Linked DNA regions of Homo sapiens: region 2 is linked to region 1. The links are contacts of gene promoters, found by promoter capture Hi-C in human tissues and cell types (Jung and others, 2019). All regions are on one chromosome and are shown on one strand. Each heading gives the region's core, a stretch centred on a gene start or on the middle of the fragment in contact. The rest is flanking DNA. Distances are from core to core; before and after follow the strand shown.

What was found. The method cuts DNA at HindIII sites, captures the fragments that hold promoters and counts their contacts. A contact is called where the count stands out against the background at its distance.
Region 2: a contact is called between a fragment that was not itself captured here and the fragment with the promoter of SPG11 in region 1, in 4 of the 25 tissues and cell types used here (dorsolateral prefrontal cortex, lymphoblastoid cells, small bowel and 1 more).

Annotation. Positions count from the first base shown.
Region 1 is chr15:44,661,020-44,665,076 of GRCh38, forward strand. It overlaps SPG11 (SPG11 vesicle trafficking associated, spatacsin), which reads right to left and starts at 2,643. Exons shown (of 40, transcript NM_025137.4): 1 at 2,372-2,643. The coding sequence starts at 2,628. RefSeq lists enhancers at 1,738-1,877, 1,987-2,943, 2,418-2,897, 2,938-3,107. The HindIII fragment of the contact is 12,399 bases long and covers 1-4,057 here.
Region 2 is chr15:44,769,089-44,773,176 of GRCh38, forward strand. No RefSeq gene overlaps it. Among named protein-coding and RNA genes, the nearest start is that of TRIM69, 35 kb to the left of the region's middle. The HindIII fragment of the contact is 5,211 bases long and covers 1-3,958 here.

The DNA of each region.
Region 1 (4,057 bases), core at 1,393-3,892:
TTTTAAAAGAAAGTGATTATTTGTATTTATAGACTGACGATTCCAAATCTTGAAAAACTCTGCCTAATAGAACCTTCCGTGATGGAAATGTTTTATATTAGCATTGCCCAATACAGTAGTCAATAGCCACATGCAGCTACTGAACACTTGAAATGTGGGGCAACTGAGGAACCAAATTTTTTACTTTAACAGCCACATGTAGCTAATGACTACCATTACTAAACGGTAGAGTTACGGAATTCTTAAACTGAAATGTCAAAATAACAACACTGGCAAGACTGATGGTGTTTCAGCTTCAAATTAAATATTAAAACTAAATTACACATTACAAATAAAAGCCCCAGATTTGAAAATAACACAATGAAAGAGGTGAGGCTATACCATGCTGATAAAATTTCATCTTTTAAGAAACTTGCTTCTACAGAAGTAGTGTTTTATACTTCTAGAGTAGTATATAAAACTACTGTGGTACATACATGATTTAATTCAATTAGTAATAAAACTAATAAGAGTACATAATAGTATTATGTACTATTATGTATTTTATACTACTATAGTAGTTTTATACTATTATAGTATTAATATGTCCTTATTAGGTAAAAAAAAGACATTTTTCTGACTGTTCATATTGATAAATGTAGAAAATAACCTAAATGTCAAATATACAAAAGGTTAAACTAAGATATACTTAAAAGGTAGAGTACATCATTAGCATAGGGACAATATTGCCACATGGAAAGACAGGAAATTTTCAATGCAATAAACAAGATATATGATGTAATTTCAACAATATTAAAAAGACCTATGTACTTTGAAAAAGTAGGAAGTAAACTCTAAATACTATAAACATGCCCTTATTTTTAACCTATGAAGTATTTTAACTGAATTAAAATTCAATTCAACTAAAAAAGTTAAAAAGTCCTTTCTTGGTCCTCCTCCCCTCTAATTTCATGAACTAGCATATGAACGCCCCCTTTATTTCATCTCGGTCTTACCTTCCCTGCTGGGTTCTCAAACACCTAAAGATTTCGGCTTTTCTTTGCCCCATTCCTCTCTTTACAGAGCCACATTCATAGGTACTTGATACTGCTAAATAAACTAATTTCCCCTAAACTAGTTTATAAATAACTTAGTTTATAATAAGTTTATAAACTAAACGCAGAGATTCCTCTTTCGAGCAACTAGACATCAAGGGTAGAGAAGACAAACCCAGAAGAGTTAAGCATTCACTGATGTATCAAATGAATCTCTAAATGTCAGGAGCTGTTAGAGGAGCTGGAGATTCCAAGATTAATAAGACACCTTTTGGCTACTCATCTTAAAGAAAGAGTTGTGAAAATACTTACTATTAATAATTATTAAAAGAACAGGTCAGGCTCAGTGGCTCACACCTGTAATCCCAACACTTTGGCAGGGAGAGGCGGGATCACTTGAGCCCAGGAGCTTGAGACTAGCCTAGGCAACACAGTGAGACCTCATCTCTACAAAAACTAGAAAAATTAGCCAGGCCTGGTGGTGCACGCCTGTAGTCGTAGCTGCTGGGGAGGCTGAGCCCGGGAGGTCAAGGCTGGCTGCCGTGAACCGTGACTGAGCCACTACACTCCAGCCTGGGCGACAGCGACCTTATCTTTAAAAAAAAAAAAAAAAAAAAAAAAGCAGCAGCCCACTCAAAACACTAAGAGGGCGTTCCCAAACTTTATGATGTAAACTCTTAAGTACTGAACCAAGAGTTACGGAAGTACAAAGTAATGCATTATTGTAATCATGTTTGTCTTCCCCAAACATGCGCGCCTCGCAAGAAAGAAGTGTCTTACTCAACTTTTTAGGCACTGCTCCTATGTAACAGCAAGCACACAATATTTGCTGAATAAATGAAGGGACAAACTGGACTCTGTCCTTGAAGAAGAGGACTACATGTGAAAGAAAACGCTATTCACTTCAAGGACATGAAAAAAGTATCAGGATGATTCAAATTAGAGATGATCCTCAGCTGGCATCTTTAACTGAAAGAAATGGGCATGGGACTCGACCCTGTGACAGTTAATCAACCTGTGTTGAATAATGAAAGAATCAGCGCCTCAGCTGAGACCCGTTCCGGGTTCGCCGCAGGTGGCAATGGAGCTGGGTGCCGTCTCCGCCCACCCGGAACAGGAGAGCTGGGCTGCCAGAATGCAACGAGGCGAGCGTTTCAGGTCGGGGGAAAGGTTCTGTGAGGAAACCACGCTCGCCTCTGGGGCGTTTCCTGCAGCTGGCACCCTTCTCCCGCCACCTCTATGGCTGCAGGGAGGCCTCGGCGTGAGCCCTTGGGGCTCAGTCAGCCGAGCCTAGGCTCTGGACTCCCCCAACGGCCCAACTCTCCCTCAGCACTTACTGCCAGAAGGGGCCCTCCAGGCAGCAGCGACCCCCGCCCCGGCTGCCAGGCGTCAAAGAAAGCACTTGGAGGCTGCCCGCAGCCGTCAGGCTCCCCAGAGCCTCCGGCTGTGTGCGCAGCTGCGCCCGGGAGCCGAGCTGCCCCATCGCCTCGGCGGGGACTGGCACCAACAGCATCGGTAGAACCCGCCCCATGGCCGCGGTGCCCCAGCTACCGCCGGCGGAAGCAGCACTCGCGACCCCTTCCTCTGCAGCCATCTTGGCCCGGCGGTTACTTCCGGTCACTTTCGCCGGAACCTGACTGCGTCGTGGGCATGCGCGGTGTACGTAGCGGCTCCCGCTCGGCCTCGTGACTCCCGCGGAGACCTCTCGGCTGTCTCCGGTCGATTCCATTCGTTTCCTGTGGGGGGCAGTACCAGCCTCTCTAGCAAAGCCACATCTGCCCTGACGCCAGTCCCACTCTGCTTAACTGCTCTGGCATGCTTGAAGGCCTAGCTTAGCGTAGCAGGCCGTTGCAGCCGTTCTCGCTCTGTGGCATTGCTCTTTGCCTTCTTGGTCCAGCTGCCTCCAGCTCCCTTGGAACCCAGTTCCTGCCTCTTTTCTTCGCTTTTCTTATTGTGCTGTTCGCTTACAGGCTCTGGGGTGGTGCCATTTCCTTGGTAGCATGGACCGTCTTACAGTGTGGATCCATAGTAAGGGTGTTGACCCGAAATTTGAAGTCAAATAATATCCATTGTAACAGTCAGAGAGACGGGGTAAGTAAGGGGTGGAGATGGTAGAGAGCTCCTGTCTGTTTTCTCAGGGAAGTATGATCCAAGATCAAGAGAAGGAGAGGAGCAAAGAGTTTGAGGTGAGAAGAGGGGTTGAATAGGTATTTTGGTAAAGTCTCCTAAAAGACAACTGTACCTTCTTAACACATCTTCCACATTCAGAACATTTCAGCATAAATGTAACCTCTATTGACAGGCCTCCCCAAGCCATTCAACCTAAGGTCCCTTCTACTGCAGTCTCTCACCTAGTTTTGTTTTTAATCATAGTATTTATCACTACTTGATATTTTCTGCCAGTTCCTGTCCAATAAGAATGTAAACTTCAAAAGAGCAAGGACTTTGTTGCTCACCACTGTCCTGGCTAGTACCTAAAACAGTGCATGTTTCATGAAAGGTACTCCCGCATTTGTTGATCAATGCATGACCTTATTTGTCAAAATAAAAGCAAACTTTTTTTTTCTTTTGAGATGGAGTCTCGCTTTGTCACTCAGGCTGGAGTGCAGTGGCGGGATCTCGGCTCACTGCAACCTCCGCCTCCTGGGCTCAAGCAATTCTGCCTCAGCCTTCCCAGTAGCTGGGATTACAGGCGCACGCCACACCCAGCTAAATTTTTGTATTTTAGTAGAGACGGGGTTTCACCATGTTGGCCAGGCTGGTTTCGAATTCCTGACCTCCGGTGATTTACCTGTCCCAGCCTGGAAGTGCTAAGATTACAGACGTGAGCCACCGTGCCCAGCTGAAACCAAACGTTTTCTATCACAAGGGAGATATATTCAACCTTCTAAGCTTAGCTGGGGCTGTGTTCTTTCTGTAAAAAATGGCAACGTTAAAGCAATTTCTAAGGTTACACTTGTGTTAGCTACAACAAAGCCTTGTCCCTTATAATCAGGACAGTCTTCTCATGCCTGTAAATCCCA
Region 2 (4,088 bases), core at 103-2,602, 110 kb after region 1:
CAGGGCAAAAGCTTAAATGTATGTATGGGAAAAATAATGCAAATACTACAGACAATATTCATGTAGTTTGTTATATACAATATGCATACATTTACAACTGATTTGGATAAACAGCCATAACAGGATTAAGACTACATTTAAGAAACTGCCTTGTTTTTTTTGAATTCACTTCAATCAGAACGTAGTAAGAACATATTTTGTGCCTGGAATCTTGCTTAATGTCTTAAAGGGTATAAAAGCAGCATAAAAAGAAAAAGAAAGGCATGCCAATAGAAAGTAATCTGACTAAAAATTAATTCACTTCTAAGGTATAAAAAGTTACAGCTGAAATATATTATTTTTTAAGACAAAGTCTTACTCTGTCACCCAGGCTGGAGTACAGTGGCACAAACACGGCTCTTTGCAGCCTGGGACTCTTGGATCCTCCCACCTCAGACTCTCGAGTAGCTAGGATTATAGGCGCAGGCAACTACGCCCAACTAAATTTTTATTTTTAGTAGAGACGAGGTCTCACTATGTTACCCAGGCTTGAAATATGTTATTCTTAAGATGCAATGGTTCTTAACCCTGGATACACATTAGGTTCATGTAGGAAGCTTTAAAAAAATTTAGATGCCTGGAATCCAGCCAAGACCAATTAAGGAAAGATCTCTATCAAGTGAAACCCTGCTAGAGTCCCAGTGTACAGTAGCTACAAGCCACTAGTTTCTAAAAGCTCTCAGGCGATTCTAATGTGTGGCTGGGGCAGACAGCCACTGAACTAAAGCAACATGTTTTATTTATTTTTACTTTAAAAATTTTTTTCCACAAGTTATTGGGGTATAGGTGGTATTTGGTTACATGAGTAAGTTCTCTAGTGGTGATTTGTGAGATTTTGGTGCACCCATCACCTGAGCAGTGTACACTGCATCATATTTGTAGTCTTTTATCCCTTGCCCCCCTCCCACTCTTCAAGTCCCCAAAGTCCATTGTATCATTCTTATGCCTTCACATCCTCACAGCTTAGCTCCCATATATCAGTGAGGACATACAATGTTTGGTTTTCCATTCCATGAGTTACTTCACTTAGAATAATAGTCTCCAATCTCATTGAGGTCACAGCAAATGCCGTTAATTCATTCCTTTTTATGGCTGAGTAGTATTTCAGCATATAAATATACCACAGTTTTCTTTATCCACTTGTTGATTGATGGGCATTTAGGTTGGTTCCATGATTTTGCAATTGTGAATTGTACTGCTATAAACATGCATGTGAAAGTATCTTTTGCATATAATGACTTCTTTTCCTCTGGGTAGATACCCAGTAGTAGGATTGCTCGATCAAATGGTAGTTCTACTGTTGCGGGAAGTCAGGGATCCCAAACAGAGGGACCGGCTGGAGCCACGGCAGAGAAAACATAAATTGTGAAGATTTCATGGACATTTATCACTTCCCTAATAATACTCTTATAATTTCTTGTGCCTGTCTTAATCTCTTAATCCTGTTATATTCATAAGCTGAGGATGTACGTCACCTCAGGACCCTGTGATGATTGTGTTAACTGTACAAATTGATTGTAAAACGTGTGTTTGAAGAATATGAAATCAGTGCACCTTGAAAATGAACAGAATAATAGCGATTTTAGGGAACAAGGGAAGACAACCATAAGGTCTGACTGCCTGTGGGGTCAGGCAAAAAGAGCCATATTTTTCTTCTTGCAGAGAGCCTATAAATGGACGTGAAAGTAGGAGAGATATCGCTAAATTCTTTTCCTTGCAAGGAATATAATATTAAGACCCTAGGAAAAGAATTGCATTCCTGGGGGAGGTCTATAAACAGCCGCTCTGGGAGTGTCTGTCCTATGCTGTTGAGATAAGGACTGAGATACGCCCTGGTCTCCTGCAGTACCCTCAGGCTTACTAGGATTGGGAAACCCCAGCCCTGGTAAATTTGAGGTCAGACTGGTTCTCTGCTCTTGAACCCTGTTTTCTGCTAAGATGTTTATCCAGACAATACGTGCACTGCTGAACATAGACCCTTATCAGGAGTTCTGATTTTGCCCTAGTCCTGTTTCCTCAGAAGCATGTGATCTTTGTTCTCCTTTTTGCCCCTTGAAGCATGTGATCTTTGTGACCTACTCCCTGTTCATACACCCCCTCCCCTTTTGAAATCCCTAATAAAAACTTGCTGGTTTTGCGGCTCAGGTGGGCATCACAGACCTACTGATATGTGATGTCACCCCTGGCGGCCTAGCTGTAAAATTCCTGTCTTTGTACTCTTTCTCTTTGTTTCTCAGACTGGCTGACACTTAGGGAAAACAGAAAGAACCTACACCCCCGATATTCTACTTTTAGTTCTTTAAGGAATCTCCATACTGTTTCCCATAGTGGCTGTACTAGTTTACTTTCCCACCGGCAGTGTAGAAGTGTTCCCTGTTCATTGCATCCATGCCAACATCTACAGTTTTTTTTATTGTTTTGATTATGGCCATTCTTGCAGGAGTAAAGTGGTATTGCATTCTGGTTTTGATTTGCATTTCCCTGACCATTAATGATGCTGAGTATTTTTTTCATATGTTTGTTGGCAGTTTGTATATCTTCGTTTGAGAATTGTCTATTCATGTCCTCAGCCCACTTTTTGATGGGATTGTTTGTTTTTTTCTTACTGATTTGTTTCAGTTTGTTGTAGATTCTGGATATTAGTCCTTTGTCAGATGTATAGATTGTGAAGATTTTCTCCCACTCTATGGGTTGTCTGTTTACTCTGTCGACTGTTCCTTTTGCTGTGCAAAAGCTCTTTAGTTTAATTAAGTCCCAATTATTTATCTTTGCTTTGATTGCATTTGGTTTTGGGTTATTGGTCATGAAATCCTTGCCTAAGCCAATGTCTAGAAGGGTTTTTCCAATGTTATCTTCTAGAATTTTTATAGTTTCAGGTCTTAGATTTAAGTCCTTAATCTATCTTGGTTGATTTTTGTATAAGGTGAGAGATGAGGATCCAGATTCATTCTCCTACATGTGGCTAGCCAATTATCCCAGCACCATTTGTTGAAAAGGGTGTCCTTTCCCCACTTTATGTTTTTGTTTGTTTTGTTGAAGATCAGTTGGCTGTAAGTATTTGGGTTTATTTCCGGTTTCTCCATTCTGTTCCATTGGCCTATGAGTTTTTTTTTTTTTTTTTTTTGAAATACAGAGTCTCGCTTTGTCTTCCAGGCTGGAGTGCAGTGGCACGATATTGGCTCACTGCAAGCTCTGCCTTCCAGGCTCATGCCATTCTCCTGCCTCAGCCTCCTGAGTAGCTGGGACTACAGGCACCCGCCACCATGCCCAGCTAATTTTTTATTTTTTTTTTTAGTAGAGACGAGGTTTCACCGTGTTAGCCAGGATGGTCTTGATCTCCCGACCTTGTGATCCACCTGCCTTGGCCTCCCAAAGTGCTAAGATTACAGGCGTGAGCCACCATGCCCGGCCCTATGTGCCTATTTTTATACCAGTACCATGCTGTTTTGGTGACTATGGCCTCATAGTATAGTTTGAAATCAGGTAGTGTGATGCCTCCAGATTTGTTCTTTTTGCTTAGTCTTGCTTTGGCTATGTGGGCTCTTTTTTGGTTCCATATGAATTTTAGAATTGTTTTTTCTAATTCTGTGAAGAATAATAGTGGTATTTTGATGGGGATTGTACTGAATTTGTAGATTGCTTTTGGCAGTGTGGTCATTTTCACAATATTGATTCTACGCATCCATGAGCATGGGATGTTTTTCCGTTTGTGTCATCTATGTTTTTTTCAGCAGTGTTTTATAGTTTTCCTTGTAGAGGTCTTTCGCCTCCTTAGTTAGGTATATTTCTAAGTTTTTTTTTTTTTTCTGTAGCTATTGTAAAAGAGGTTGAGTTCTTAATTTGATTCTCCTCTTGGTCGCTGTTGGTGTATAGAAGAGCTACTGATTTGGGTACATTAATCTTGTATCCAGAAACTTTGCTGAATTCTTTTATCAGTTCTAGGAGCTTTCTGGAGGAGTCCGTAGGGTTTCCAAGGTAAATGATCAAATCGCCAGCAAACAGTGACAGTTTGACGTCCTCTTTACTGATTTGGATGCGCTTTCTTTCTT